Linked DNA regions of Homo sapiens: regions 1, 2, 3, 4 and 6 are each linked to region 5. The links are contacts of gene promoters, found by promoter capture Hi-C in human tissues and cell types (Jung and others, 2019). All regions are on one chromosome and are shown on one strand. Each heading gives the region's core, a stretch centred on a gene start or on the middle of the fragment in contact. The rest is flanking DNA. Distances are from core to core; before and after follow the strand shown.

The links. Contacts are between HindIII fragments. The study calls those that stand out against the background at their distance.
Region 1: a fragment that was not itself captured here is called in contact with the fragment with the promoter of ZNF611 in region 5 in 1 of the 25 tissues and cell types used here (aorta).
Region 2: a contact is called between a fragment that was not itself captured here and the fragment with the promoter of ZNF611 in region 5, in 1 of the 25 tissues and cell types used here (small bowel).
Region 3: a fragment that was not itself captured here is called in contact with the fragment with the promoter of ZNF611 in region 5 in 1 of the 25 tissues and cell types used here (adrenal gland).
Region 4: a contact is called between a fragment that was not itself captured here and the fragment with the promoter of ZNF611 in region 5, in 1 of the 25 tissues and cell types used here (small bowel).
Region 6: a contact is called between a fragment that was not itself captured here and the fragment with the promoter of ZNF611 in region 5, in 1 of the 25 tissues and cell types used here (aorta).

What each region holds. Positions count from the first base shown.
Region 1 is chr19:52,384,512-52,387,754 of GRCh38, forward strand. It overlaps ZNF880 (zinc finger protein 880), which reads left to right. Exons shown (of 4, transcript NM_001145434.2): 4 at 1-1,284. The coding sequence ends at 803. Among named protein-coding and RNA genes, the nearest start is that of ZNF528-AS1, 12 kb to the right of the region's middle. The HindIII fragment of the contact is 8,137 bases long and covers 1-3,243 here.
Region 2 is chr19:53,201,958-53,205,585 of GRCh38, forward strand. It overlaps LOC124904792 (zinc finger protein 480-like), which reads left to right. Exons shown (of 5, transcript XM_047439805.1): 2 at 2,059-2,185; 3 at 2,992-3,123. Among named protein-coding and RNA genes, the nearest start is that of ZNF665, 10 kb to the left of the region's middle. The HindIII fragment of the contact is 4,533 bases long and covers 1-3,628 here.
Region 3 is chr19:52,302,549-52,306,134 of GRCh38, forward strand. The region is part of intron 2 of ZNF480 (zinc finger protein 480); the gene reads left to right. Among named protein-coding and RNA genes, the nearest start is that of ZNF480, 7.2 kb to the left of the region's middle. The HindIII fragment of the contact is 3,790 bases long and covers 1-3,586 here.
Region 4 is chr19:53,163,560-53,167,114 of GRCh38, forward strand. ZNF665 (zinc finger protein 665) reads right to left here. Exons shown (of 4, transcript NM_024733.5): 4 at 1-2,788. The coding sequence ends at 894. Among named protein-coding and RNA genes, the nearest start is that of ZNF347, 6.3 kb to the left of the region's middle. The HindIII fragment of the contact is 5,852 bases long and covers 1-3,555 here.
Region 5 is chr19:52,733,641-52,737,257 of GRCh38, forward strand. It overlaps ZNF611 (zinc finger protein 611), which reads right to left and starts at 1,404. Exons shown (of 6, transcript NM_001161499.2): 1 at 1,361-1,404. LOC124904760 (a long non-coding RNA gene) reads left to right here and starts at 391. Exons shown (of 2, transcript XR_007067328.1): 1 at 391-820; 2 at 1,154-2,064. RefSeq lists enhancers at 1,392-2,377, 1,690-1,819 and a silencer at 1,440-1,509. The HindIII fragment of the contact is 18,911 bases long and covers 1-3,617 here.
Region 6 is chr19:52,353,857-52,357,286 of GRCh38, forward strand. It overlaps ZNF610 (zinc finger protein 610), which reads left to right. Exons shown (of 6, transcript NM_001161425.2): 5 at 395-523. Among named protein-coding and RNA genes, the nearest start is that of ZNF880, 14 kb to the right of the region's middle. The HindIII fragment of the contact is 5,710 bases long and covers 1-3,430 here.

The sequences.
Region 1 (3,243 bases), core at 679-3,178, 350 kb before region 5:
TTGCACGACATCAGAAAATTCATAGTGGAGAGAAACCTTACAAATGTAAGGAATGTGGCAAAGCATTTTCAGGGGGTTCAGGCCTTACTGCTCATCTTGTAATTCACACTGGAGAGAAACTTTACAAATGTAATAAATGTGGCAAGGTCTTCAATCGAAATGCACACCTTACCAGACATCAAAGAATCCATACTGGAGAGAAACCTTATGAATGTAAAGAATGTGGCAAGGTCTTCAGGCACAAGTTTTGTCTAACCAATCATCATAGAATGCACACGGGAGAGCAACCTTACAAATGTAATGAATGTGGCAAAGCATTTAGAGACTGTTCAGGCCTTACTGCCCATCTACTAATTCACACTGGAGAGAAACCTTACAAATGTAAAGAATGTGCCAAGGTCTTCAGGCATAGATTATCCCTAAGCAATCATCAGAGATTTCATACTGGAGAGAAACCTTACAGATGTGATGAATGTGGCAAGGACTTCACTCGAAATTCAAACCTTGCAAATCATCACAGAATCCATACTGGAGAGAAACCTTACAAATGCAGTGAATGTCACAAAGTCTTTAGTCACAATTCACACCTTGCACGACATAGGCAAATTCATACTGGAGAGAAGTCTTACAAATGCAATGAATGTGGCAAGGTCTTCAGCCACAAGTTATACCTAAAAAAACATGAGAGAATTCATACTGGGGAGAAACCGTACAGATGTCATGAATGTGGTAAGGACTTCACTCGAAATTCAAACCTGGCAAATCATCACAGAATCCATACTGGAGAGAAACCGTACAGATGAAATGTGTGTGGTAAGATCTTTAGTAATAATTCACACCTTGCACAGCATGAGATAATTCATTCATGAGAGAGTTCTTACAAACTGAGTATGGCAAACTCTTCATGCTAAGTTCTAGCATTAATCAACATCAGAGATTCCATACTAAAGAGAAATCATAGCAATGTATGTGAATCAGGTCTCTTGAGGCCTGCCAAATGACTAGATATCAAAACATACATCTTGGATGAAACCATACAGATGGATTATGTATGCTGAGGCTATTATTCAAGGACCATTACTATGGAACATGATAAGATTTACACAAGCGATAATTCAGTCTCTAGTTCTCCAATATTTATGATACTGCATGCTGCAGAAAAGTCACAGCTCCAAATACGTTGAATCTCATGACGCGATGCATGTCGAAGGTCCAAGGGCATGTGGAAATGGTCAGTTATATTCAGGCAATTAAAAAACCTAATTATATGGGGTTTTTTGAAAAGGCTACTTTACATTTTATGACTTTCATCCTCAACTCTGAAATCACTTCATGTGACTTCTTTACAGACCTTTCACTGTGGTCTCTTGAATCAGTAGGATGCTGGGCGCGGTGGCTCCCGCCTGTAATCTCAGTACTTTTGGGAGGCTGAGGCGGGCGGATCACGAGGTTAGGAGATCAAGACCATCCTGGCTAACATGGTGAAACCCCATCTCTACTAAAAATACAAAAAATTAGCCAGGCATGGTGGCAGACGCCTGTAGTCCCAGCTACTCGGGAGGCTGAGGCAGGACAATGGTGTGAACCTGGGAGGTGGAGCTTGCAGTGAGCTATCACGCCACTGCACTCCAGCCTGGGGGACAGAGTGAGACTCTGTCTCAAAAAAAAAAAAAAAAAGAAAGAAAAAGAAGCAGTATGATGACAGGGATGACTTCATTAGCTGAGAATCATTTCTATCAGTTTGCCGAGGAAGAAGGACACTGCGTTTTCTTATTATTGTCTGATTTAGAGAGCATGGAGGTGGGGAGGAATCATATAAAATGATGATGGCAGTCATCATACTGTTGCTGAGCACTTTTTTCCTGACAGAATGGCACAGTGCTTCTGTGCTCTACCAACTAGCCATGAAATAGAGCATATCTGTAGAAATCATGCAAGGGAGATGGTGGGCACTAGGACTGCATAGCAATCACTGTTTAGGCAAGAATGATTAAAAAGTAGTCATTTTTGGCTGGGCGCGGTGGCTCACACCTGTAATCCCAGCACTTTGGGAGGCAAGGTGGGTGGATCACTTGAGGTCAGGAGTTTGAGACCAGCCTGGTCAATATCTCCAAACCCCATCTCTACTAAAAATACAAAAATTAGCTGAGCGTGGTGGTAGATGCTTGTAATCCCAGCTACTCGGGAGGCTGAGGCAGGAGAATCGCTTGAACCCGGGAGGCAGAGGTTGCAGTGAGCCAAGATCGCACCATTGCACTCCAGCCTGGGTGACAAGAGCAAAACTCTGTCTCAAAAAAAAAAAAAAAAAAAATAGTGGTCATTTTTGAAATGGAAGAGAGAACAGTTGATTAGAGAATTTAAACTACCAGTATGCCATGTTCTTGAGTAGCATTTACATTTAACTGTTGGCATAATTTCCAACTGTTTGATTTAGAATGTACATAGTTCTCATGTTTTAATTAATAAAATTTTCCTAAGTATGAATGAATCACATCATTTCTACCAATTGTTTTAGTCCCCCTTAGGAGAATATACTGCACAGTAATGCAACATTAATAGTAAATACTCTGCAATTTGGTTTTCTTTGTCTTCACACTGAGTTATGTAGCAGTGATATGTGTCTAATCACTCTAACTTTAGTGTAAAATAGGCATTTTTAAAAAATGCACCATTAAGGTTGACGCATCCAGAACAATTTTGTGTGTGTGAAATCAACATATGCACACACTTGTGGTGCATATCCTTGGGTAAGTATAATTTACACTAATCATACTTAATACTTGAGTTATTCTTTCTGTGCCACTTCAGCCTCCTACACCCTCAAAAGTCCATGAAACATTCACTGTTCATTATATTTCTACGTGCCTATTGTGTGCCAAGGAAGACTCATGGCATGCACCTTAATTTTTATGAAGCAAAAATACAAATATATGACAAATACTTTTTTTTTTTTTTGAGACAGTGTCTTGCTCTGTCACCCAGGCTGGAGTGCAGTGGCACAATCTCGGCTCACTGCAACCTCTGCCTCCCGGGTTCAAGCAATTCTCCTGCTTCAGCTTCCCTAATAGCTGGGACTACAGGCGCACGCTGCCACGCCCAGCTAATTTTTTGTATTTTATTAGAGACGGGGTTTCACCATGTTGCCCAGGCTGTTCTCGAACTCCTGAACTCAGGCAATCTGCCTGCCTCGGCCTCCCAAAGTGCTAGGATTACAGGCGTGAGCCACTGTGCCTGGCGACAAAT
Region 2 (3,628 bases), core at 950-3,449, 470 kb after region 5:
CCCCTAGGCTGGAGTGCGATGGTGCGATGTTGGCTCACTGCAACTTCCGTCTCCTGGGTTCAAGTGATTCTCCTGCCTGGGCCCCCTGAGTAGCTGGGATTACAGGTGCTTGCCACCACACCGGGCTAATTTTTGTATTTTTAGTAGAGATGGGGTTTTACCATGTTGGCCAGGCTGGTCTTGAACTCCTGACCTGAGGTGATCCACCTGCCTTGGCCTCCCAAAGTGCTGGGATTACAGGTGTGAGCCACCGCACCCGGCCAGAAAACAATCTAAATCTCTAACAGAAGGAGATTCTTTACGTCATTTTCAGCACATCCTTCTCTTGGAGGTTGCTTTTCAGCCTCTTGATTCTTTCTTTTGATGCAGAGATGTTTGTAAGTTTGATGTAGTCCCATTTGTATATTTTTGCTTTTCTTGCCTGTGTCTTTGGTGTCATATCTTAGAAATGACTGCAAAATTCAGTTTCGCAAACCTTTTCTCCTACACTTTCTTCTAGGAGTTTTATCATGTTAGGTCATATGTTGAGGCTTTTAATTCATTTTTCTTTTTTTTTGTTGTTTGTTTTTGTTTTTTGTTTTTTTTGTTACCCAGGCTGGAGTACAGTGGTGCGATCTTGGCTCACTGCAGCCTCTGCCTCCCGGGTTCAAGTGATTTTCCTGCCTCAGCCTCCCGAGTAGCTGGGACTACAGGTGCCCGCCATTTCACCACGTTGCCCAGGCTGGTCTCGAACTCTTGACCTCAGGTGATCCTCCCGCCTCAGCCTCCCAAAGTGCTGGGATTACAGGCGTGAGCCACTGCGCCCAGCCTAAATATTTAAATTTAAATGGATAGAATTTTATTTGTAGTTTGACTATAACTATTTCATAGGGATTGGAGTTAAAGTTTTAAATATTTTTTTCATGTTTTTACCATTCTTTTATTGGCATTATATAACATAATGTTGACAAACTAAGTTAAATACAACTTATACACTTTACTGTCCCCAAGATGCTGAAATGCACATGAGGAAAAATGATAATGAAAAAGTCATAAAAAGTATGTCATTGAGAGGCATGTTTTCTCTTTGTTAATTTACATTCGTGTATATATGTGTGCATGAATGTATGGATGAACTATCCTATGGCGTTTATAGACGACACATCACCATTTCATAAATCAGTTCCGTATTTTTATTTTTTTATTTTATTTTATTTATTTATTTTTTTGAGACGGAGTCTTACTTTGTTTCCCAGGCTGGAGTGCAGTGGTGCGATCTCGGCTCACTGCAACCTCTACCTCCTGGTTCAAGTGATTCTCCTGCCTCAGCCTCCCGAGTACCTGAGATTACAGGTGTGCACCACCACGCCCAGCTAATTTTCGTATTTTTAGTAGAGACGGGGTTTCACCATGTTGGCCAGTATGATATCAATCTCTTGACCTCATGATCACCAGCCTTGGCCTCCCAACGTGCTGGGATTACAGACGTGAGCCACCACGCCCGGCCACACTTTTTAGATTCTGACCTTTCTTTCTTTAAAGACACCATGGACATTGTCATCTCTGAAGACAACACACTTCTTCCAGCTCCTCCAGATACTGAATATCACTTTGTGTGTCAAACATAATATCTAGCACTTCTATAGAGATAGCTGTGTGTTGACTATTTATTTCTACGTTTCTTCCATTGTCTACAGAAAGAGAAATCCACACTTATTTAGAAGATATCATAAGCTCTTACAGAAGAGTATAATAAAATGCAATTAGGGAGACATACCTAATGTTCTTCCTAACGTCCCTAAATGCCCCAAAATACCTTAGCATGGATCTGCCAGAACTCTCCCTTCAGTAAATCAATACAATTCTCTCTTTTTCTCATTTTATGTAAAGATGATAACTCTCCCCCATGTGCTTGGTAAAATGTGTTTTTCAGACACGGTTTGCCTGAAAATACCTTTCCATGGATTTCCCAGAACGTTCATTTAAACTAAATTGACTTATACCTCTCTTTTTGTCATTTTGTGTGAAGATAATAGCTCTCCCCATGACTTCTTGGTGAAATGTGTTTTTTCATATCAGGGAAGGTTGACATTCAGGGACGTGGCCATCGAATTCTCTCAGGAGGAGTGGAAATGCCTGGACCCTGCTCAGAGGGCTTTGTACAGGGACGTGATGTTGGAGAACTACAGGAACCTGGTCTCCCTGGGTGAGGATAATGCCCCTCCAGAAGCTGGGATCTGCTCTGCTGTATCTCTGCATGTTCCCTGTGTGCCTCTTGGGAGCCCCTGCATTGCTCAATTAAGACTGAAGCTATGTTAATTCTCAGATGAAAAGCTTAATAGTGCAGCATCTGGACTTAATTATCCCATTTTCAAATGATCTACCTCCTTCAAGATATATCATTGGTGGTTCCAGAGCTTAAGTAGAAATAAACCCTATGGTAGACTTTAAAAATATCTACTTTGGGCCAGCGTGGTGGCTCACGCCTGTAATCCCAGCACTTTGGGAGGCCAAGGCGGGTGGGTCACCTGAGGTCAGGAGTTTGAGACTAGCCTGGCCAACATGGTGAAACCCCATCTCTACTAAAAATACAAAAAATTAGCCAGGCGTGGTGCCGAGCGCTTGTAATCCCAGCTACTTGGGAGGCCAAGGCAGGAGAATCACTTGAACCCGGGAGGCGGAGGTTGCAGTAAACCGAGATCGCGCCACTGCACTCCAGCCTGGGCAGCAAGAGCGAAACTCCATCTCAAAAAAAAAAAAAAAAGAAAAAGAAAAAGTAAAAAAATCCACTTTGCTCTTTTCTGCCCCTTTGCTTGTGATTCAGTACTTCCTAGAGGACAGTTCGATGTTCGTATTTTACCATGTTCCCTAAACATTCAGAAGGAGGCATTCAGTGGGTGAATTTGTGAAATATTTTTCTAGATCCATTTGTAATGTCCTCTTTCCTCCTCTAAACAAAGGGCTGGGATTCTGTAAAAGCCACAGCACATTACATGCCTTTCTTTTTCTAAGCAGGAATCTCTCTTTCTGAAATGAGTATTACCTCCATGTTGGGGCAAGGGAAAGAGCCCTGGACTGTGGAGAGTGAAGTGAAAATAACAAAAACATCAAGTGGTTGGGAATGCATCAAAGGTGTGAACACAGGTAAGAGCTCAAATGGACAGAGAGGAAGCTGCACCATTAGTATTCAGGTAACTCCTTCCGAGTTGAAGAGTTCTGTGGAACAAAAAGGGTTTAAATCCTGTGAGCTCTCAATGGAAACCTTTCTTTGCCCTCATTTATCCCTCTGCTCTTCTGACGTGTAGTAGTTTATCCTTTCACACTCCCATGGCGCTACAGCTCCAACAGTGACAAAGGCAAAGTCTTTATCATGATGGACAACACCCTGTCATGTGGCTTCTGTGACCTCTTTGGTTTCTTCACTCTGAGGGGCACAGGGAGGGTTGTGTCCAAGAGGTCTCCTGTGATCTCTCCTGTACCTGACTGCGTCTGATGCTCAGTTCTCTGTCTATACAGATCAGAGCTGAGGCCTCCATGGACCTGCCCCCTTGACCTATTCAGGTTTTGCCCCATTTCCTGTACTTGGGAGACCTAATCAGGTGACGGGAAAACATTGGCAGCTCCTCCTTTGCATCTGGGGCTCCGGAAA
Region 3 (3,586 bases), core at 621-3,120, 430 kb before region 5:
GAAGCATTGCAGAAAATGCCATTTAACACAGGCAGAAGAGTCCCTCGTTTGACAGGTAGCCTAAACAAAGTGAGAAAAGGTATCTACACATACATGCACATAAGCCAGTTTACCAAAAGAAGGAACATAAATGACATCCATTTGCCAAACAGAATTAGGTTCCAATCCTCGAGGATTAACTCCTCCTGTAAAAGATGAGGAATGCACCAATTGGCAAGTTGCGCATTGCTGGATAATAGATTTAGCTTCTTTCCAGGTAATGCTGTATCTATGTTTTAGACCAGAGGCATTAACATGGGTTAAATTGTGAAAGTGTCTGGCATTAGATATTGCAGTAGCAACTAGGCGATCAGCCATTTGATTCCCTGCAGTTAAAGGTCCTGGAAAGGGTGTATGAGCTCTAATATGAGTAATGAAAAAGGGTGCATTCTATTCCTAACTGTGGTTTGTAACTGGGTAAATAAAGTCATTAGCTGTTCATCTGTTGAAATCATAACTGAGCATTTTTAATTGTGTGGAATGGACTACATATGAAGAATTAGAAATTACATTGACAGGCATCTTAAAAGCAGTCAGTACCTTAATTACAGCTACAAGCTCCGATTTTTGAGCTGAAGTATAGGGCGTGTGGAAGACTTTAGTTTTTGATCCAGAGTAAGAAGCTTTACTGTTACTAGACCCATCTGTAAAAACATTTTCAGCACTTTTAATTGGTTTAAATTTAGTCATTCTAGGGAGCATCTAGTTAGTTTTAAAAATTGAAATAATTTTGTTTTTGGAAAGTGATTATTAAGCACTCCCACGAAATCAGCTAAGTGGTTTTGCTAAGTAAGATGATTTATAAAGGATTGTTGTATTTGTGCCTTTGTAAGAGGGACAATAATTTTTTCAGGGTCATATCCATGCAGTTTAACAATTCAAATTCTCCCATTCCCTATCAGAGTAGCAATTTGATCCAAATAATGAATTAGAATCCATGAATTCATATGTGGAAGAAAAAGCCATTCTACCAAGTCTGCTTTTGGACAGTAACACCAGTAGGTGAATGCTAAGTTGGAAAAATCAATAAATCTAAAGCCTTTTCTGGATCTATTCTATTTATTTGAGGTTTTATGTACTTGTTTTTCAATGAGTTGTAACTCTGCCTCAGCCTCCTTTGTTAATTGCTGAGGGCTAGTGAGACTAGGATCTCCTTTAAGGATAGAAAATAGATTACTCATGTCATAGGTAGGAATGCCTAGAGCAGGTTGTATCCAATTAATGTCCCTTAGTAATTTTTGAAAGTCATTCAGTGTTTTCAATTGATCCTTATGGTTACTTTCTGTGGCACTACTGTAGTGTCATTTACTAAGGTCCCTAAGTAGGAGTAAGGAGTAGTGGTCTGAATTTTTGTCAGGAGCTATAATTAAACTGGCATGAGAAATCGAATTTTTTAAGTGATCATAATATTGGAGTAATATTTCCTGAGTGGGGGCAGCACAAAGAATATCGTCCATATAATGAATAATATAACACTGAAAATTTTTTATGAGTAGGTTCAATTGCTTGTTCTACATAAGTCTGACAAATTGTTGGACAGTTTAACATGCCTTGTGGCAACACTTTCCAATGAAAACGCTTAGCAGGCTGCAGGTTGTTTACCGCAGGAATTATAAATGCAAACCGTTCACAGCCTTGCTCAGCTAAGGGGATAGTAAAGAAACAGTCTTTTAAATCTATGACTATTAAAGGCCAATTTTTTAGAATCAGCAGGAAAAGGCAGTCCTGGCTGCAATGTCCCCATAGGTTGTATAACTGAATTAATGGCTCTAAGATCTGTCAACATGCTCCATTTATGTGATTTTTTTCTTAATAACAAAGACTGGAGAATTCCAGGGGGAAAATGTTGGAGCTGTGTGTCCTTTTTCTAATTGTTCAGTAACTAAGTCCTCTAAAGCCTCCAGTTTCTCTTTACTTAGCGGCCATTGTTTTATCCAAGTTGGTTTATTTGTTAACCATTTTAAAGGTATAGGTTCTGGAGGCTTAACAATGGCTGCCATGAAAAATTATATCCTAAACCCTGGTGGGAATTTTGTCCTTCTGCTTGAAGTGGTTTCTTTAACCCTTTTAAATTTTTTTCTAATCCCATGCCAGGCACATACCCCATCTCTTGCATCGTATGCTGACTTTGAGGGCTATATAATTGTTCTGGAATGAACGCTTGTGCTCCCCATTGCTGTAATAAATCTCTTCCCCATAAATTTATAGGTACAGCAGTTACAATTGGTTGGCTGGGTGTGGTGGCTCAAGCCTGTAATCCCAGCACTTTGGGAGGCCAAGGTGGGTTGATCACGAGGTCAGGAGTTTGAGACCATCCTGGCCAACATGGTGAAACCCCGTCTCTACTAAAAATACAAAAAAATTAGCCGGGCATGGTGGTGGGCACCTGTGGTCCCAGCTACTTGGGAGGCTGAGGCAGGAGAATGGCGTGAACCTGGGAGGCAGAGCTTGCAGTGAGCTGAGATCACGCCACTGCACTCCAGCCTAGGGGATGGAGCCAGACTCTGTCTCAAAAAAACAAAAAACAAAAAACAGAAGTTACAATTGGTTGAATAGTCCCAGATTGTTCATTGGGTCCTTCACAATGCAATATATAACTGCTTTGATATACTTTAGGGGCTATGCCAACTCCAACTGTGTTAAATCGAGTGGGTTGAATTGGCCACACGGACAGCCAGTGCTGTAGAGAAATGATTGAAATGTCCTCTCCTGTATCTACCAATCCTTTAAATTTTTTTCCTTAATAGTTATTTCACAGGTAGGATGTTTATTAGTAATTTGATTCACCCAGTAAGCTGCTTTGCCTTGTTTATTCGAGCTTCCAAATCCTCCTGTTCATTTAGTTCATAGCACAGGAGCTTCCAAATCCTCTTGTTCGTAGCACAGGAGCTGTGCTATGGGCTCTCCTGGCTCTGCTTTCCAGGGAACAGAAGTAGATATAACAATTTAAATTTCCCCATTGTAATCTGAATCAATGACTCCTGCATGTACTTGCACTCCTTTTAAATTTAAACTAGACCTACCTAGAAGTAATCCTACTGTCCCCACTGGCAAGGGGTGCCACAGACTCCTGTTGGCACTTTTTGCGGGGGTTCCTCAGGCAGAAAGCTCACAGGTTTTGTGCAGCATAAATCTACTACCAGCTATGGCAGGGGACAGGTATTGTATGGGGGTGAGGGAGTGGCCTGAGCTGGAAATGCCCCGGTTTGGAATGAGGCCTGGGACGGGCCCCTCATGGCGTTTCCTGAAATCGGGTTCCCATCTTCATCAAACTTAGAGTGACACTGATTAGCCCAGTGTTTTCGTTTTTTACATTTTGGACATATTTCAGGGTCAGCAGATTTCTTTTTTCCCCCAACTGGCAGCCTGACTTGCTGGTTTTTTCTACATTCTTTTTCAATATGATCATGCTTCCCCCAGTTAAAACAAGCTCCAGGAAGTGGAGTATTTCCTTTACCCACTTTCAGTCCTGCCATTGCCTGGGCTAGCAGAGTAGTCTTATGCAGATTACCTCCAATACCATCACAAGCTTTAATATAGTCAACCA
Region 4 (3,555 bases), core at 744-3,243, 430 kb after region 5:
TCTTTCCCGAACAACACCATGTTAGGCGTATAATCATGTATAAAATCAGCACATTGCAAAGTTCTGGTTGGAAGTTATAAATAGTAGCCTTTTCAATAAATCTTAAATACTTCAACAAAACATTTTATAAGCTGAAAGTAATTGGCCATTTCCAAACATCCTACAACCTTTGATATGTATCATGTAATGAGTTTTAACACATTTGGACTTCTGATTATGCTGAAGTATATAATATCAGAGGGTTATGAGGAAACTAGAGACTGAGTTCTACTCTTCCTATGAATCCTCACCTACAGTTGTGGTCCAGGAGTAATAGTCTCAGCATGCATGTTACGTTTGTGTGACTTCATCAAAGATGTATCTTTTGATGCGTATTGAGCTCTGAGACCTGGATAAAGCTTCTGTCATACATAGTATATTCACAGGATTTGAACTCTGATGTCTGTTAATGCTTAAACTCATCAGGAGTTTGCCACAGTCACTGTATTTGTAAGAATTGTCTCAAGAATGAATTCTCTGATGTTGTGAAAGAATTTGTGGCTGAAAAACTGGCCGCACTCCTTTGTAAGGTTACTTTTTTTTTTTTTTTTTTTTTGGAGATGGAGTTTCACTCCTGTTGCCCAGGCTGGAGTGCAATGGCATGATCTCGCTCACTGCAACCTCCGCCTCCCAGGTTCAAGTGATTCTCCTGCCTCAGCCTCCCGAGTAGCTGGGATTACAGGCGTGCACCACCACACCCAGCTAATTTTTGTATTTTTAGTAGAGACAGCGTTTCACCGTGTTGGCCAGCCTGGTCTCGAACTCGAGACCTCAGGTGATCCCCCCGCCTCGGCCTCCCAAAGTGCTGGGATTACAGGCGTGAGCCACCACGCCCGGCGTCCTTTGTAAGGTTTCTATCCACTATGAATTCTTCGATGTTTTGCAAGGTTTGAATTTTGAGTAAAGACCTTGCCACATTGGTTACATTTGTAAGGTTTGTCTCCAGTATGGACTGCCATATGGGTAGTTAGGGTTGAACGAACACTGAAGGCTTTCCCACACTCATTACACCTATAAGGTTTTTCTCCAGTGTGAATTCTTCTATGATTTGCAAGATGTGAATTTTGAGTGAAGACCTTGCCACATTCATTACATTTGTAAGGTTTTTCTCCAGTATGGATGACCTGATGGGTAGCTAGGTTTGAATGTACACTAAATGCTTTGCCGCACTCATTACACTTATAAGGTTTCTCACCAGTGTGAATTCTCTGATGAATTGCAAGGTACGAATTGTGTCTGAAGACCTTGCCGCAATCATTACATTTGTATGGTTTTTGTCCAGTATGTATTGTCTGATGTATAGTTAGGCTTGAATGAACACTAAAGGCTTTGCCACACTCATTACACTTGTAAGGTTTTTCTCCAGTATGAACTCTCCAATGCCTTGCAAGTTGTGATGTTTGACTGAAGGCTTTACCACATTCATCACACTTGTAAGGTTTCTCTCCAGAATGAATTCCCCGATGACTTGCAAGGTGTGAATTTTGTGTGAAGACCTTACCGCAGTCATTACATTTGTAAGGCTTTTCTCCAGTATGAATTGCCTGATGGGTAGTTAGGCTTGATCGCACACTAAAGGCTTTGCCACACTCATCACACCTGTAAGGTTTCTCTCCAGTATGAATTCTTCGATGATTTGCTAAGTGTGAATACTGAGTGAAAACCTTGACGCATTCATTACATTTGAAAGGCTTTTCTCCGGTATGGATGATCTGATGCTTAGTTAAGTTTGAATGCATACTGAAGGCTTTCCCACACTCATTACACTTGTAAGGTTTCTCACCAGTATGAATTCGCCGATGCTTTGCAAGGTATGAATTGTGCCTGAAGACCTTGCCACATTCATTACATTTGTAAGGTTTTTCTCCAGTGTGGATTGTCTGATGGGTAGTCAGGCTTGAGCGAACACTAAAGGCTTTGCCACACTCATTACACTTGTAAGGCTTCTCCCCAGTATGAATTCTTCGATGACTTGCAAGGTGTGAATTTTGAGTGAAGCACTTGCCACATTCCTTACATTTGTAAGGTTTTTCTCCAGTATGGATGACCTGATGTGTAGTTAGTTTTGAATGTGCTCTAAAGGCTTTGCCACACTCATTACACTTGTAAGGTTTCTCTCCAGTATGAATTCTCTGATGACCTGCAAGGTTTGAAGGTTGACTGAAGACCTTTCCACATTCATTACATTTGTAAGGTTTTTCTCCAGTATGGATGACCTGATGGATTGTTAGGTTTGAACGAACAGTAAAGGCTTTGCCACACTTATTACACTGGTAAGGCTTCTCTCCAGTATGAATTCTCTTATGACTTGTTAGCCGTGAGTTTTGACTGAAGACCTTGCCACATTCATCACATTTATAATGTTTTCCTCGATTATTAGGAGACTTCTCAACTTGATTGTATTCATAAATTTTCCCTTCATGTTGAAATTGCTGCAGTTCAGGGAGATGTGACTGAAAGCTTACTCCAAGCTGATTTTCAATATGCCTGTTTCCTGCAGCCCTTCTATCACGTTGAGCTCTTCTACCAGGGAGATTTTCTTTTTGCAACATAAGTACTGTTTTATAATTTCCTTCATCATCTTTCCACTGACACTCAAAGTCGTATGTATTTTTCTGAACTTCCTGGAAGGACAAGCCTACAGTGTCACAGCTTTCAAGTCTCTCCAACTTCACCGTGTAGAACGCTTCTCCCATATTGTTCTTCCCCTTTGGTGGCAAATCCGTGTTTACACATTTACAAGAGATATCTGTAAGATATAAACAACCATAGATTTCCAGTTAACTATAGTAGGTAAATAACTATTTCCCATTGAAAAACCTAATGTTACACCAAAAGTAATAGTTATGTTGAACAGACTTACGATTCTTCAGAACCATAATTTTCCAGAACACAAAAGGAACAGGATTCCTTATCAAAGAAAAGGTGGTAACATGTAATTCAAATAGTAGGGGATCCTAGTTTTAAACATTCTGTGAACAAAACACTCATATTGTGCAAACCCATATTAGCCCTGAAAGGAGTATTTTTCAACCATGACCCAAGGCTACCAATTGGCAGTATATTTTATATGGCTGTCACAGAATTCAAGAGAAATAATTCTTAGATTGTGCCTATTTAAAGCATATTTGTTATGCATAAGTAAATGCTGAAGCACAACATGATATACTCTAATGGCAAATAACTCACAGCAAACATATGTAATGAATAATTAAAGAACTAGTAATTTTGAATTGGAAAACAATAATAGCACTGAAAAAACGAGGAGGAATTCAATTTTAAAATGTCAGAAAAAACTATTTTTCTGAATACCTGTTATAAAACTACATACCCCTATATACCCACACAGAGCAAACATTTTGCAACATTAACAAGTGGTATATAACAGTTATATTTCTTTCTTTCTTTCTTTCTTTTTTTTGAGAAGGACTTTTGCTCTTGTTGCCCAGGCTGGAGTGAGTGGTGCAATCTCGGCTCACCGCAACCTCCGCCTCCCAGGTTCAAGCGATTCTCCTG
Region 5 (3,617 bases), core at 154-2,653:
ATTCTGTACATATCTCTCATTCTCCCCTTCTCTCTCTAGCTCTTGTTTTCTTTTCTTTTTCCCTGGGATTCTGCTCTTCATTTTGTACCCCTCTCCTCTCCTGCTATTCATCCCCTTCTTCCCTTTATTCCTTCTCTTCCACCTCTTCTCCTCCATCCTCACAACTTATTTAACCTCTTATTGCTCCTTCTCCCCAATCTTTCAATCGTCCTCAATCTCCATCTATTTCTGCCTCTTCTCCCATCTCTGCGCCTCCTCTGCTCTCCCTGTTAAATTCCATCTTCCCCGATATACTCCCTTGTCCCCACTCTGTGTCTCCCCAGATCCCAGCTGTCCTCTCTGCTGTGGTTCTCCCTCTGTTCTCCTTGACACAAGCACCACTCTGCTCTGTCTGCCCTGGCTCCAAATCCTTCCCTCTCTCCCTCACTCTGATGAGTCTCCCTCTTTGCTGCCACTCCCCCTACCTTGTGATCCTTCATCTCTCTGTACATCTATCTAGCCTTTCTCTACATTTCTCCGGTTGCTTTTCTCCTCCTGCTTTCTTAGGTTTTTTTTTTTTTTTTTCACTTCTGCCATCTCTTGGCATATCCCTCACCAATCCTCTATTTTGCCATCTGTTATGGGCCTTTCTTATTCTTCTTTTCTCTGCCTCAGGTTTTCTACTGCTCTCTGTCTCCTGATTCCTTTGGCCCACACAATCGCAACACGGTTTGGAGTAAGACGCCTGCATCCCGGAGGAGCGCATTTTCCACGCCCTGGAGCTCCGCAGGCAAGAATACCCCGTGCCGCAGGACAGGCCCCTGGGACCTCCCCAGTGCAGGTTCAATGAAAGCGGTGACTGCGGAGGGGAGACCTGGGGAGCAGCAGGCCCCGGCATGAGGAGGAAGGTGCGGGGCGGGGGGGGGGGGCGCGACGGCGCCTTAGGACCAGGATGGGGTCTGCAGGATCCCAGGACCTGGCAGAGGACTCGGCCTCCCCGGGACTGGGGCTGCGGCGCGGCGCTCCCGGGGCTGAGGAGGGGGAGGCTGGGAGGCGCCCTGGGCAAGAATCCACATCGCGGGTGAAGACTTTAAAAAGCGCGGGGCGCGAGGAGTCAGAACAAGGTTTTCAGCAGGAAAACTACGCAACAGAAAGTGTATACATTGACCTATAGCAGAAAGACCGGGGACGAGACCAGCCTCAGGACGACTTTAAACCCAAAAGGAAGCGACCCTCGGGCTCTCACGGGGATGTCTCAATTTGCTCTGGGCAAAGGAAGACGCCGGAGAATTTCCAGGTCTGTGGGGACCCCACGTCCCAGGGACAGAAGCCCTGGGAACCTAGTTAGCGCAGACTTAATACAACACAGAGCAAAACTCACCGCGGCGATATGACCTACACTCCACCCGATCCGCTTCCGGGTTTGCGTTAATCTGCGCGCGCAGGACAAAAGCCAGGCCTGGGCGGGAAGTGGGAGGTAGGCGGGGCCTGGGCGAGGTAGGGGCGGGGCGCGAGGCGGAGAGACCTTGCCTTTTAGAACCGGCAGAGGGCAGGGCCGGGGCGGGATCTGCGCGTCTCTCAGCCTCGCTCCCAGCGTCTCTGTTTTCAGGTTTTGGAGGCGAGAGCGCCAGAAAGTCTGAGGCATGATACAAAAGCCCTGTTGAGAGAAGAGAGAGACCCTCTGACATTGTTTTATATTGTTTTATAGTCAGTAAAAACAACAGGAAGTAAAACCAAAGACAGGCAGCCCCGCGCCAGGCCCGAAACCAGGCCTGGATCCGCCTGGCCTAAACCCAGTAGTTAAAAATCAACTTATGATTTAGAAGCTGATGTTAGGCATAGATTCCAGACATTGTATAGAAGAACACGGTGAAACTCCTGCCCTGTTCTCTCTCTCCCTGATCACCGGTGCATGCAGCCCCTGTCACGTATCCCTTGCTTGCTCAATCAGTCACTATCCTTTCATCTGAAATCTTTAGTGTTGTGAGCCCTTAAAAGGGACAGAAATTGTGCACTCGGGGAGCTTGGATTTTAAGGCAGTAGCTTGCCAATGCTCCCAGCTGAATAAAGCCCTTCCTTCTACAACTCGGTGTCTGAGAGGTTTTGTCTGCGACTCGTCCTGCTACACTGTAATTGTCTGGAACAGGGATACAAACTAGAATGTGAAATGCAAAGCCCTGCCTGGGCGGTATGTACCATGTCATGCTGAGGTCCCACAGAACAGATAGATATCCTCTCCCTTTCTATTGTCCATTCACTCCGGAAGGAGACTCCGCCCTGTGCTCAGCTTCAGAGACTTCCCTGAAGCCACCGCCTGGAATGCCGGACGGAGTGCTCAGGCCGAGAAGGAGTGAGGTCACCACCTGCTGCTTAAAGACAGCAGAGGCGCGGGGGCGGGAGCCTGAGGTCCCAGCTACTCAGGAAGCAGCGGCGGGAGGATCCCTGAGCCTCGGGTTCCAAGCCAGCCTGAGCGACAAAATAACGCCCACTGCCGCGGTCTCCCTTTCTTGTCTCTCTCTCTCTCTTTTTTTTTAAAAAAAACTTTCGCAAATAAAATTTTTGATTGTGTGACATAGGGATCCAACATTATTCTTTTCCATGTGGATATCCAGATAGTTGTCCTAGCACATTTATGGAAGAGATCTATTACTTTCTTGTATTATTATTATTATTATTATTATTATTATTATTATTTTTGAGACAGAGTATTTCTCTGTTGCCCAGGCTGGAGTGCAGTGGCGAGATCTCGACTAAATGCATCCTCTGCCTCCTGGGTTCAAGCGATTCTCCTGCCCCAGCCTTGGGAACAGCTGGCATTACAGGCGTGCGCCACCATGCCAGGCTAATTTTTGTATTTTTAGTAGAGACGGGGTTGACCATGTTGACCAGGCCGGTATCGGACTCCTCACTCCAAGTTATTTGCCTGCCTCAGCCTCCTAAAGTGCTGGGGTTACGGCGTGAGCCAACATGCCTGGCTAATTTTTTGTATTTTTAGTAGAGATGGGATTTCATCGAGTTAGCCAGGACGGTCTCTATCTCCTGACCTTGTGATCCGCCCGCGTCGGCCTCCCAAAGTGCTGGGATTACAGGCGTGAGCCACCGCGCCCGGCCAGAAATATTCTTTTTTTTTTTTTTTTTTTTTTTAAACGGAGTCTCACTCTGTCGCCCAGGCTGGAGTGCAGTGGCGCAATCTCGACTCACTGCAAGCTCCGCCTCCCGGGTTCACGCCATTCTCCTGCCTCAGCCTCCGGAGTAGCTGGGACCACAGGCTCCCGCTACCACGCCTGGCTAATTTTTTTGGGTTTTTTTTTTTTTGTATTTTTTTTTAGTAGAGACGGTGTTTCACCATGTTGGCCAGGATGGTCTCGATCTCTAGACCTCGTGATCCACCCGCCTCCGCCTCCCAAACTGCTGAGATTACAGGCGTGAGCCACCGTGCCATGCCGCAGAAATATTCTTTGCTTCGCTTTTTAAATGTTGACAAAATATAACTGAAAACTAAAAAGTCTCCTCCCAAATGAGAAATCATCTCCACGACGATAACAGAGAAAGAAATAAAAACCATTTTATTAATAAATAAACCTTAGACCAGAATGTGATGGGAAATAGAGGCAAACAGCTAAAAGATTGAAAAGAGA
Region 6 (3,430 bases), core at 426-2,925, 380 kb before region 5:
TGCATTTTCTCTTGCGTGCCTCTTGGGAGCCCCTAAATTGCTTAACTGAGGTAGAAACCTTGTTGACTCAGAAATGAAAAGCTCTATTATGCTCTCTGGATTTGAAATGCGTCCTTTCTTCAGATGTACCGCCCCCTTCATAATACATCATTGGGTGGCACCGGATAACCAGTTCTCTGTTTTCTCCCCTGTGCTTACAAGTCAGTAGTTCTTGGAAGAGATCTCAGTGTCTACATATTGCATATTCCCTAAGCATTCAGAAGGAGCCAGTCTGTGGGTGAACTTGTGAGATATTATTCTTGATCCATTTGCGATATCCCCTCTCTTACCTAAACACAGGGTTTGGGTTTTGGAAATGCCCCAGCACATCTTGTTTCTTTCTTTTTATTAACAGGAATCTGTCTTCCTGACCTAAGTATTATTTCCATGTTGAAGCAAAGGAGAGAGCCCTTGATTCTGCAAAGTCAAGTTAAAATAGTAAAAAATACAGATGGAAGGGAATGTGTCAGAAGCGTGAACACAGGTAAGAGCTCTGATGGGCAGTGTGGAGGCCATAGTTTTTATTTTTTTATTTTTGAGCCAGGGTGTTCCGCTATCACCCAGGCTGTAGTGCAGTGGCAATCATAGCTCACTGCAGCCTCAAACTCCTGGACTCAAGCAATCCTCCTGCCTTGGCCTCCCAAAGTTGTAGATTATAGCCACTGCACCTTGCAAAGCCATACTATTTTTTTTTTTTTTTTTTTTTTTTGTCTCACTCCGTTGCCCAGGCTGGAGTGCAGTGGTGTGATCTCGGCTCACTGCAACTTCTGCCTCCCAGGTTCAAGTGATTCTCGTGCCTCAGCCTCCCCAGTAGCTGAGATTACAGGCATGTGTCACCACACCCAGCTAATTTTTGTGTTTTTAGTAGAGACGGAATTTCACCATGTTGGACAGGTGGGTCTCAAACTCCTGACCTCAAGTGATCTGCCTGCCTCAGCCTCCCAAAGTCCTGGGATTACAGACGTGAGCCACCACACCCAGCCCATACTAACTATTCAAGAGTGTGTGGGAAACTCTCCAAAGGTGGGAGAGTTCTGTGAGAAAAGAAAAGTTTAAATCCTAGGCATTCTGAATGGAAATATTTCTTTGCTCTCTCTTGTCACTCAGTTCTATAAATGTGTGATAGTTTCATCTTTTCACCCTCGAGTGGTGTTGCCACCCAGAGACAAAAGCAAAGTCTTTATCCTGATGGACAGCACCCTGTCATGTGGCTTCTGTGAACTTTTGTTCCATGATTCTGAAGAACACAGGGAGCATTGTTGCCAGGGGTCTCTTTCCCCTGTGGTCTTTCTTCCTGTACTTGATTCCATCTGATGCTTAGTTTCTGTCCCTGTAGGTCAAAGCTGAGGTCTTCATAGACCTGCCCCCTTGACCTATTCATGGTCCACCCCATTTCCTGTAATGGGAAGATGTAATCAGGAAATGAGAGAACATGAGCTACTCTTTTTTGCATCTGGGCCCTGGAAACTACAGGTGCCTCCAGCCCCCTCTGCCTGTTCAGGTCTATTTGGATGGGAAGAAGCCAGTGATTTTCCTATTCTCACATGCCACTCAGCACAGAGCATTTCACTTCTGGTCACCAAAATGTGTGGGGATTTCTCCCCATCGGCAATTTTTCACTGGATCTTTACTGGGTTTTCTATAATTCATTTCTAACACTGTCTACCTGGAGTTAGAATCAGATCCCACAGGCTAAGGGTTGGGTTCCCAAGCCTGTCGCCCACCTCAGCCACCACTTGTTAGTAGTAGATTGTCACCTTTCTGTCTGACCAACACAGCTGTAAGCTGGGTTCCCTCGACTCCCTTCTTGGGTTGATTACTTTGCTCGGGTGGCTCACAGAACTCAGTGAGACACTTCATTAGGTTCACTGGTTCATGATGCAGGATGTTTCTAAGGATACAGATGGACAGCCAGATGAGGAGATTCACAGGGCGAGGCACGTGGGAAGATTGACTGGGTGTGCCGCCCTCCAGGCGCCTGTGTGTCTTCAGCATTTGGAACCTCTTGTGACCCCATAGTTCACGAGCGGCTTCATCACGTAGGCGTGATTGATATTAACTCAATCTCCAGCCCCTCTCCTAGAAGCTAGTGGGTGGGGCTGACAGTTTCATGCTTCTAAGTATGGCCTGGTCTTTCTGGTAATCAGCCCCATCCAAGGAACCCACAAAGGTTGCCTCATTAGAGCAGATCACACTCGTACCACCCAGGACATCTCAAGGTCTTCAGAGCTCTGTGTCAGGAACCGGGGAAGAGACCAATGTATGTATGTATTCTTATTCCACAAGGCCCCTCAGCCATTCTTCAGTTGTGCTTCATCCACACTTTACTGGTGTGTGTCACAGGGGAGTAGGTGGCTCTTCTGAGATGCTTACTCAGCTGAGTGGGGCAGATAGTCAACAGAAAGACCCTGTATTCGATCCCTAGGTCCCCATGGGGAACATGGCACAAAATAGCAACCAGATGCTTCTGGTTTTAACACTACCATCATTTGTTCAAACCACTGTTACTTTCATCTTGTACCTTTCCATGTATTATAAATTAACTTGGTTTTTGTATATTTAGTCAGCAGTTCCATATTTCATATAATACTCTTTGTGTTTATTATTTTGTATCTGTAGGGCTGTAGTATCAGGGAATGGCCATTGATTTATATATTTTTGAGTGTGGTTTTTTTAAATGCACAGGGTATGCCTCAGCAGGAGAGTCTCTAAAACTGACACTCCAGAAATTTTTGAATAGGAGTTTAAATATTTGTTTTCCTTTGTTGTACGTGACTTAGTAGCTACTATTGAACAACACTTTTGCCAATTAAATGTATTACAGTGTATAATATGGAAATTTTTTATATCTTAAGAATATGCTGTTTTAAAATTGTTGCCATCTTAATCTCAGAAATACCATTACACTGACTTGCCGTAATTTGTTATTTAAGACTGAGGGGCAAAACTCAAACCGTATCTTCCTCTGTCTGGTCTTGCACCACGCAACAATAAACACAGACAACTTATGTCACCAAATGTGAGTTTTACTTCCACCAATAAGCAATCAGTTCTGCAGTGGCTACTTGCTGGGGGCCCTTGAATTCTATTCTGATGCTGTGTACCTGGAGAGCGTGTCACATGCCACAGGTTGAGGGCTCAGTCTCCAATACTGCCCCCTTTCAGACACGGGTCATAAGTCCAGGCCTCTGGAACTTTCGACCAACTGGCTTCAAAAGTTGGGGTTCCCATGGCTCCCTCTTTGGGTTTGATTAATTTGCTAGAGTGGTTCACAGATCTCATGGTAATACATACTTAACATTTACAGGGTTTATTCCACAGCGTATTTTAAAGGCTCCAGGCCCGGCATGGTACCTCATATCTGTAACCCAAGAATTTTTGGAGGCTGAGG